Regions from separate parts of the Homo sapiens genome. Here regions 2 and 3 are each linked to region 1. The links are contacts of gene promoters, found by promoter capture Hi-C in human tissues and cell types (Jung and others, 2019). All regions are on one chromosome and are shown on one strand. Each heading gives the region's core, a stretch centred on a gene start or on the middle of the fragment in contact. The rest is flanking DNA. Distances are from core to core; before and after follow the strand shown.

Region 1 (3,375 bases), core at 876-3,375:
ATATCTGCAGTCTCCAGTATTTGTCCAGACTTCCTCCAGTTTACTGTTCTGACCTGCTGTTCTTTCTTACCTGGCTGTCAGATCCACTGGGACATCTAGGAAAAAATCTGCCACCCCCTTCCCCCAAGAAAAGGTCTTGCCCTCCAGCCTCCTCCCACTATGTACAGACATAGAAAGTAGGGACAAGCCGGGCATGGTGGCTCACGCTTGTAATCCCACCTACCTGGGAGGCTGAGACACAAGATCTCGAGCCTGGGAGGCGGAGGTTGCAATGAGCCCAGATCGCACCACTGCACTCCAGAGCAAGACTCTCAAAGAAAAAAAAGAAAGAAAAAGAAAAAAGGGGCCGGGCGCAGTGGCTCACGCCTGTAATTCCAGCACTTTGGGAGGCCGAGGCGGGCAGATCAAGAGGTCAAGAGATCAAGACCATTCTGGCCAACATGGTGAAACCCCGTCTCTACTAAAAGTACAAAAATTAGCTGGGCGGCCGGGCGCCGGTGGCTCATGCCTGTAATCCCAGCACTTTGGAAGGCCGAGGCGGGTGGATCACGAGGTCAGGAGATCGAGACCATCCTGGCTAACACGGTGAAACGCCGTCTCTACTAAAAATACAAAAAATTCTCCTTGAGTGGTAGCGGGCGCTTGTAGTCCCAGCTACTCCGGAGGCTGAGGCAGGAGAATGGCTTGAGCCCGGGAGGCGGAGCTTGCAGCGAGCCGAGATCGCACCACTGCACTCCAGCCTGGGTGACAGAGCGAGACTCCGTCTCAAAAAAAAAAAAAATTAAATTAAATTAAATTAAAAATTAGCTGGGCGTGGTGGCGCTCGCCTGTAGTCTCAGCTACTCGGGAGGCTGAGGCAGGAGAACTGCTTGAACCTGGGAGGCAGAGGTTGCAGTGAGCCGAGATTGCGCCACTGCACTACAGCCTGGGCAACAGAGCGAGACTCTGTCTCAAAAAAAAATAAAAATAAAAATAAAAAAAAAAAAGATAAAAAGGAACAGCCCCTGGTCCAAAATCCCAGATAAGGTAGAATCATTTTTTTTTTTTTTTTGAAACACCAAGTGCGAGTCAGCCTGGGTTTTTAGACCTAAATCTAAAAATGTATTGAACACCTGTATGATTTCATAAATATTGCCCTGATTGACGAGGCACCCCAAAGAAAGGCAGAACTGGATTCAACATGGAAAGAAAGTATCCCAAGAAGCCAGCCATGAGAGTGACAGTCCCATCTGTGCTACAAGAGTAAGGCTACTGAGGTTGAGATGCAAGAGCTTTGTGCTGGGGGGCCACAAGACAGAGCAGATCCGGAATCCAGGCAACCTTCACTTCCAGCCTGAAGACTCTCCTACGAACTATGATAGTAAATGATGGAGAGGCCCTAGGGTTTGGGATCAAACAATTCTGGTTTGAGCACGCACCCCGCCCCACAATCCTTCCTTCTGCCATTTTACTTAATCTTGCTGAACCTGTTTTCCTCAGCCAAAAAAAAAAAAAGCTCGCATAGTGGCTGAACTAATTATGTGAAATATGTGAAATGTGCTTTGCAGCAGGTGGCTTTTAAACTATTGACCAGAAAACACATACACTGAAAAAAAAAATTTTTTTTACATTATAAGCCAGTATACACATATAAGTATATACAATTGAAACAAGAGTTTCACAAAAACTGTACTTACCTTACTACCTGGGAGTCACTTGGTATATTACTATTGTATTTAATTTTTTATATGCTGATTGCAACTCACTACATTGTTTTCACTCCTAATGGGTAGTTTTTTAAAAACACTTTTCAAAACCATGCAATTATCAGTTATTACGAAGATTAGTAAGATTCTCAGGAATGGTCTGATGGCTAGGAATCTTCATTGCCAGGGAAACAAAGGAAAAAGGTCAAGGTTATTAGGTCAAGCCCTTGGGAGCCCTGTTGCCAAGGGAACAGATCGACCCCCGTCAGGGTTGGTTTACCCACGGTCTGCAGCCCTGTGGAGAAAAGGAGTGGCCCGTGGGCCTGTCACTCACATCAGAGTTGGGAAGCCCGCCTCCAAGCCCGGAAGACCCGCCTCCTCTGTAAGGTTAAAGGAGGAAGAGGCAGAGATTGGAGGTTCAGGCAGTGACGTAACTTGCTGCCTTAGGTGGCCTTCCGCTCTGGCGGCTGTCGCGACGGGGGTTCAGGGAATATTTACTGGGCCTCTCCGCTCCCTCTGCTCTTGGAGGTGCCATGAGGTCAGTTAGCTACGTGCAGCGCGTGGCGCTGGAGTTCAGCGGGAGCCTCTTCCCGCACGCAATCTGCCTCGGAGACGTTGATAACGATACGGTAGGTGCATGCGCACCGCAAGAGACAGCCTGGATCTGTGCAGGGACGGGGCAAGGGAAGTGGAAGAGGCCGCCCGAGCGTGCCACGTGAGCGTGAGCATGCGCGCTGTGGCTAGTTTGGAGCGCTAGAGAGAAAAACTTTATTGATAGCTTCAGTGTTCGTGGTTGGTTTTGTTCCTTGGGAGGTTTTGTTTGTTTTTTGAGACAGGCTCCGTCTGTCACCCAGGCTGGAGTGCAGTGGCTTGATTTCGGCTCACCGCAACCTCTGCCTCCCGGGCTCGAGCGATTCTCCTACCTCAGCCTCCCAAGGGGCTGGGATTACAGGCGCCCGCCACCACGCCCGACTAATTTTTGTGTTTTTAGTAGAGGTGGGGTTTCACCATGTTGGCCCAAAGTGCTGGGACTACAGGCCTGAGCCATCGTGCCCAGCCCTTCTCGTTTTTTAAATAAATTACCACAGGTCAAGCAGGTAAAACAATGCCTGGCACACAGTTTAGTGCTCACTTAAGTGTTAGTGGTGGTGGTGGTGGTGTTAGTATTTTATTCTGTTTTTCTGCAAATCTTTACTGAACTGCTCATTATGCACCAAGGACTCTGCTACATTCTAGGAATTCAAAAATGAACGAGAGAGTTCCAGTCCTCAGATAGCTCATAATCAAGCTGTGTAATAGTCACCGGATAATAAAATGTAATGAGATGCATTGACTAAAGTATGGAGAGGATTCTCCGGTGGAGCATTAAAGGGAATAGTGTCTGATGCTCTTTTTTTTGCAGACTTTATCTTTTCATTTATCATCTATTTCATAGTTCTAATGCAAAGCACTGTATTGCCCCCTTCTACCCTCTGCCCTATCTTCCTACTCGGCCTCCCTGCTTCACAGTTCCTTAACTGTCCTGTACTTATTTCCCACCGCCCCCTAGTGCTGTGATGCAGAAGGTATCTTATGAGGCCTTTTTTGGCTCTACCCTCTCTGGGGAGGAAAGAGTTATTCTCATAAATTTGTGTTATGTTTTCTGGGCTTTCGTGTTTCTTCATGAACTGCCAAGCAGTCCAATTTTATG
Region 2 (3,288 bases), core at 752-3,251, 780 kb before region 1:
GACCTGCTCTGTTAGGTTCCCTGCCTGTCACTGCTCTTGTGCCCAGGTGTTTGTGAGGGCATGAAGAAGGAAGGGACTTCAAGGGCTGGGCGATTTGGCCCCACCATGATACCTGGGTGTTGCACAGAGCCCACATGGCAGTGGAGAGGCTATCTCTTATCAGCACCTTTGCTGTCAGCTTCTTGTCACAACCTCAAGCCTGACAGGGGAACCACACTGATAGGTGGGCCCTCTGGGTCTTGGCAACAATGTCATAACGCGGATTACCAGAGCAATATGTCACAGTGTCATTTTGCAATGTTGAGGTGTTCCATTTGTTAATGAGGTGAATTTCTTGTCTATAAACATGAACATCTGAACTGTAGAGGAGAGATTAAAAAAATAAAATCACCATATTAATCAGGCCCAATAATTCCTTTTTTAAGCTTGGATCCAATGCTGAGGAATCTCTGGCATCCTTCCTTGGAATCAATTACAGTCAATTTCTTCACATTTTACATCAGTTAAAGGAACATTGTCAAGATAAAATCTTGCCCAACATAGTTTTTTTTTTTGTTTTAATTTCCTTACTCTCATAAACCAAGACCTTCTTAGGTTACTTTGCCAATAATGAATTTTTAGAGCCAAATCCCTGGTTTGTCTTTATTTGGGCTGTGCTGAGGAAGTAGCATCTTCCTTCCCCTTGGTTCACATGTTGCAGTGGGCTGCTCCACGGCTCTCAGATGTGCCCTTGGGGCTGCATTTTGTCCACACAGGGGCCTGTGTTCTAGTTCCTTAGGTGCGTGTGAAGTTGTGTCTGCCTTGCTGATGGGGTTATTTGTGCTAATCTTTCTGGAGCCCGGGCACAGGCCACAGCAGGGCAGAGATGCCTGGAAGGGGTCAGGACTGGGTGCCAGCATCCTCTTGGGCCGTAAAGTTAGGCAGGCATGAGGCCACATTCCACAGGCCTGAAGGAGCAGGGAGCTTGGGCTCAGGGAACTTAGTTGAGGCAGAAAGGCTCAAAAGTCACCTGAGGTGAGGCAGGTGGAAGCTGGAGACCCAGCAACAAGTTGGGAACATTACCCATGAGTTTAGTTCATAAGACAGAGGCAAGCTTTGTCCTGACATCTTTGCCTTCTCCTTTGTCCTATGTTAGGCAAGAACTCACAGGTGTGTGCTGCTAGAAGGCAAGACAGGTCTCTACAGGTTCAACTTACCCATAATTAAGGATGGACAGCAGCCTAGACCTCTCAGTGGTTTCCTAATGTGAGTTGCTGACAATAGATTTTGTTCTTTTGTAGTAAAGGCACCCAGAGACTTGCTGCCTAAGTGCCCATGGGCATCCTTGGTTCTTGCCTACCAGGCAGACCCTCTCCTCCTCATCCGAATTGGAGGGTCCAATCACTCTCTTGGGGGTCCAACCTGGATTTTGTCTTTCTCAGCATTGTGGTCTCAGTACGGAGAAACCAAAACTCGTGGCACTCAAGAGCTTGTTCACTCTTCTCTTCTCCAAACCCTCTGGTGTCCAAGTGAGTTTGGACTAAGTGGGAGGCCAGATTCATTGGCACACAAGTGGCAGCACGGTGAATGGGGGGCTGTGCTGTGTTCTTCAGGCTCAACCTTCCAGAAGACAATGCGTGCCTGTCTCCTCTGCTGCATTCCTTGTCCCATGTCTTTTGTTTGAACAAAAGAGGATTGGATAATGAGTTTCTTTTTTATTTCCATCCTTATTTTCTATGGACATGAAGCTTGAAAGCCAGTCTCCTTGGGTCTCTATCTCTCTACCTATCCTACTACCCCTTACCTTAGAGTAAAGGTTCTGAATGTAAAATAAAGTTATTGGGGAGATTTTAAAATTCTGATGCCCAGGCTGTATCCCAAATCAAATTCATGGTTGGATTTTACTATACAGTAAGGAATGCTTTGATACCATTTTGAATGTAGATGGCTCAGTGGCTTTCTTTGGCTTTCTCCAAGTCCTGCTCAATCCTCCTGAGATGCCCCGAGAATACTGGCCTCCTGAGCAACAGTGGCAGGATCTCAGGAGAGAGAGGGCAGCTGTGGGCTGTGTCTTTTCATGAGTATGCAATAGTCACCTTTGTTTATTATTTCCCCACCCTGGAGACAAATGTGTTGCTCTTTCTGTGTGAGTGTGTGTGTGAGTGTGTTTGTGTGTGTGTGTGTGTGTGTCTGTGTGTATGTGTTTGGAAGGGGTAAGAGCAGTGTAACCACAGCTCCCATCCCCATGCTGCAAGGTAGAGGGAGGAGGGGTGGCTCACACGTGAGTGGGAGCACGGCTTGCGGCAGTCTCGGTAACCGGAGGGGGCGGGCATGCTCTAAGGGAGCAACTTGGAGGAGTTCCTGTGGTCCCAAACACCCATCCATCTCTGCTTGAGTTCCTTCCCAGTTTTAGGTGTCATATGAGTGCTTATATCAGTATAACTCACATCAGCCTTAGTGCCATGGACAGTCCCTAAAGTGAACATCAATTTCTCTGTCACCTGCCGTATTTTGGGTGTACCCTAGGGGCACTTAGCACACCCGGCCAGGAGGCTCAAGCCCATGCCTGTGGATGGCACACATAGAGAATGGACTCTGTTGCTCTTGAAAAGGATTGTTAAAAAATCAAGTTAGCATCTTGTTTGTCAACGTTAAGACAGTTGATGTTTCAGAATAATTGACAAGCATGGAAATCCACTGGAAACAGGAATGTTATTAGGGCCACTGTGTTTGTGAGTGTTCGGATGTGAATTAAACCAATCCATTACACTTGTTTGATGTTCATTGGGGCTGCAATATTTTTATGCAGAACCCGTGAAAGGAGACACAGTTCAGTGGTGTTTATGAGTGACCTTGTCTTGTCCTCTGAATTATGGACAGGCAGCTCAGAACATCAGCAGCTGGAGCTAACAACTGTGCTGTGTTTTCTTCATATTCCGTATTCCTGAGATGCTGCTGCCATCTCGGGCTTAGATTTTGCAGTAGAGAACATGAATGCGGCTTTTCAAATCAGAAATATTTATAGAACGAGGTCCTGATTTAACAACGCTGAAGCGCTGGTCCTGGAAATAATAACACAAGTCAGGAAAGAGAACCTCTCTCCCTATAAAACATCCCTCCAGTGCTTGCTTTCGAGGGGACTTCTTTGTGAAAAATTAATGTTTCCCAGTTTGATCAGAAGGGTTTTAAACTGAAGGTAGGGGGTGGTGGAGTAAAATGCCAGGTGAGCCTATGACACTGACAGGCAGTGCCTGGTTAGGTGCAGTGATGTAGCTAACCCACCCTGGGGGAGTTCCGCTGGCCATTCCA
Region 3 (3,457 bases), core at 536-3,035, 810 kb before region 1:
TATTTGTCTCTAGGAAAATACTTCTGTGCTTGAGTTGTAGGCCGAATTCATGTTTTTATTTTTATTTTCATAAAACATTTTTACTTGAAAGAAAGATGGGCAAACTATGATTATTCAAACAGGTACTTGACAGACATTTTTCTGAAAATAAATAAAGTGTGCCTGTCACTTTCAGGAAAACAAGGGACAATTACTGCTGCCAATGATAATTTTTAAGCCTTCAAGCCAGAATTAAAAGTTTAGAAAATGTGTATCTACTGCCATGAGCTTGACATCTCAGTACTTAATGTTTTTTTTTCTGATGAGATCAGTGATGATATTAATGAGCGCAATTTTAACAAATCTTGTATAATGGAAAGTGTCAATATCTCAAAGATCTGCTTAACTCAGTGGTCCAGTATTTTCCAAAAGACCAATGTCTCATGCTACATAATCATGCACAGGCAAAAGATCCATTCAAGGACAAGGTGGACTAATGGATTTTTAATGTAACAGTATGAAAAGTTAATAGGATTTCAGATAGTACATTGCAGCTAAGCTTTGAGAAACTCCAGCTTGTCAAGTTTTGGTATATTATCCAAGAAGAATATCCACAATTGTCTGAAAAACTCTATTAAAATATCCATCTCTTTTCCAACTACATTATCTACATATGAGGCCAGAGTTTCTTCATATACTCCAAACAAAACACACATAGCCCGGGGTCTTTAAAGTTATTTTTAATTTCCAATATGGTAAATATAGGTGGGTATAACTCACATAAACAAAAGTTCTCTGAGGGAGTCCTTAATAATTTTTAAGAGTGGGCCAGGTGCGGTGGCTCCTGCCTGTAATCCCAGCACTTTGGGAGGCTGAGGCGGGCGGATCACAAGGTCAGTAGTTCAAGACCAGCCTGGCCAACATGGTGAAACCCCGTCTCTACTAAAAATACAAAAATTAGCCAGGAGTGGTGGCAGGTACCTGTAATCCCGGATACTCGGGAGGCTGAGGCAGGAGAATCGCTTGAACCCGGGAGGCAGAGGTTGCAGTGAGCCGAGATCCTGCCACTGCACTCCAGCCTGGGTGATAGAGCGAGACTCCATCTCAAAAATAAAATAAATAAAAAGTAATTAAAAAAATAATTTTTAAGAGTGTAAAGGAGTCTTGAGACTAAAAAGTTGAGAATGGTTGATCTAAACCATTTATCTAGCATTAAATATTAGAACAACTGTGCAGACATTACTACTCACATTCATAAATTCTTACCTATTTGATATAGAAATATCATAGATACGGCACACATACCCTCTCATAATAATATGTTGCAATATAATCTTTGCAGTCACAATTTCAATTGTACTGAAATTCTTGGTTAAGCTGCATTTTGGAGTCTCAGTCCTATTGACTCCCAAGCCTAACTTCCCAGTGGGGAAGAATACAGCAATGGCTTTCAAACAACTTTTTTTTGACTGAGGCTGGGGTCATTTGCAGTCTGACTGAGAACATATGTTTATATATTTATACCTGATATTAACTAGAATAAATGTTTCAATACTAAGTATACAGACATTTTTTAAAATGCTATTTGTGACTTTGTAAATTGGTTTCATGACCAACTAATGGATTGTGACCTGTAGTTTGAAAAACATAGGGCTGCAGCAACTGAGCAACCACACAAAGCTGACTAGACAACTTTCCATGTTAGTTCACTACCTTTTTCCAGTGTTACTGACCTCTTTGCTCTTAATCACATATGTGCTTCTAAAAACAAGTTTAATCTGTAATATGGGCAATGGAGAATTTTGTGATTAATTCTTGAACTAGTCACACTCTCTCACTTGATTAGCTGTTCTAATTTTGATTTTTCAGCATGAACCCACAGATTCTACTTTGCATTTCCCTCGTACATATAATGAGGCATTGTTTTTCTTTTGTCTGTTAAGTTCCATGATCCTTACACAGATCATTGTCCTCATAATTTTTCAGTCTTTCCATCTTTAAAGTGTAAAGAATAGATCATGGCCTCCAAAGAACGAATTGCTTTGAGCTCATTAGAGAAGACAGGCAATATAGGGGCCATTGTAAAAGCTTAAATGTTCATAAAACAAAAGTGTATACAAGTCTTAGTGATCTGTATGACTACAATTGCAAAGCATTTATGGAGTGCTCACTTGATGAAATTCATTAATTCTTCATGATTTATTATTGCTTCTTGTGTCTGTGCTGAAATTACATGGTCATGTCTTCTCCAGTCTTTGATCTCACTGATGAGTAAGATGAAGATACCCTTACTTTGCTTACGGGGAAAATTTCACATATGTGAACAACATGCTAATATGACCCTTAGTAGAGAAGAGTTAATTTTTTGTGTGTTTAGAGTTAATGAAACAACCCATCTTCTGTTCTAACCTCCTTGTATCTGAACTCTTTTCTCCCAAGTATCTTACACATTCCTATCTCTGTACCTTTGCCCATCTGTCTTCTTAGCTTGGAATGACCTTTTCCTGGAAAACTCACCTCCTGTCTTCTCCCATACAATCCTTTCAGCCTATGAATCCTCATTGCATTCTGTTGCGATTTTTCTTGTGGCACTTAGCTCACTTTATCCTGACTTAGACTTATTTATTTACTACGTTACATATACATTTTTTTCCAATTCTAAAAAAAAACAGTCATTGTAATAAAAGAGAATTGTTATAGAAAATCTAGCCTGAAAACATTATTGCAATTGAACAAGAAATTGGGCTTTGAGTTTCTTGACAGATAAGCAAAAAGGAGGAAATAGTATGTTTCATAAAGTTTTACTTATTTATTTATTTATTTATTTATTTTTTGAGACAGGGTCTTTCTCTGTCGCTCAGGCTGGAGTGCAGTGGCACAATCACAGCTCACTGCAGACTTGACCTCCTGGGTTCAAGCACTCCTCCCACCCCAGCCTCCCAGGTAGCTGGGACCACAGGCTGGTGCCACCATGCCCGGCCAATGTTTTTTATATTTTGTAGTGATGGGGTCTCACTACGTTGCTCAGGATGGAGATGTTATTTTTCATGTTTTGTAGTGATGGGGTCTCACTATGTTGCTCAGGATGGAGATGTTACTTTTTATGTTTTGTAGTGATGGGGTCTCACTACGTTGCTCAGGATGGAGATGTTATTTTTTATGTGCTTATCACCACGTAGTCTCCCTAGCACTTGGTCCAATGCCTTGTACATAATAGAGATTCAATAAATGCTTATTCTTTTGAACTAAACCCTGAGTTAGTTGAATTTACTCATTAAATGTCAGCATTTTTTAAAGAGCTCATGATTTATAAAATAATGAAATCCAAGTTGGGATAAAAAAACGTGCAATAGCAAGTCCTGTTCTCTCAGATTTTATATTCTAAGGGAGATAGAAAAACATGGAAAGGTTTTTGGTTTTTTAACTTTCAAACAAAAAACTCTTGAAGATTAGAAATCATACTCAGAGAAAAAAGATA

What was found. The method cuts DNA at HindIII sites, captures the fragments that hold promoters and counts their contacts. A contact is called where the count stands out against the background at its distance.
Region 2: a contact is called between a fragment that was not itself captured here and the fragment with the promoter of ITFG2 in region 1, in 1 of the 25 tissues and cell types used here (stomach).
Region 3: a fragment that was not itself captured here is called in contact with the fragment with the promoter of ITFG2 in region 1 in 1 of the 25 tissues and cell types used here (hippocampus).

The regions. Positions count from the first base shown.
Region 1 is chr12:2,810,543-2,813,917 of GRCh38, forward strand. ITFG2 (integrin alpha FG-GAP repeat containing 2) reads left to right here and starts at 2,126. Exons shown (of 12, transcript NM_018463.4): 1 at 2,126-2,314. The coding sequence starts at 2,219. It overlaps ITFG2-AS1 (ITFG2 antisense RNA 1), which reads right to left and starts at 2,382. Exons shown (of 4, transcript NR_146317.1): 1 at 2,020-2,382. RefSeq lists enhancers at 1,673-2,422, 2,153-2,402 and a silencer at 1,953-2,042. The HindIII fragment of the contact is 16,489 bases long and covers 1-3,375 here.
Region 2 is chr12:2,029,846-2,033,133 of GRCh38, forward strand. It overlaps a transcript of CACNA1C not described here. Among named protein-coding and RNA genes, the nearest start is that of CACNA1C-IT1, 15 kb to the left of the region's middle. The HindIII fragment of the contact is 5,670 bases long and covers 1-3,288 here.
Region 3 is chr12:2,005,323-2,008,779 of GRCh38, forward strand. It overlaps a transcript of CACNA1C not described here. Among named protein-coding and RNA genes, the nearest start is that of DCP1B, 2.6 kb to the left of the region's middle. The HindIII fragment of the contact is 3,124 bases long and covers 224-3,347 here.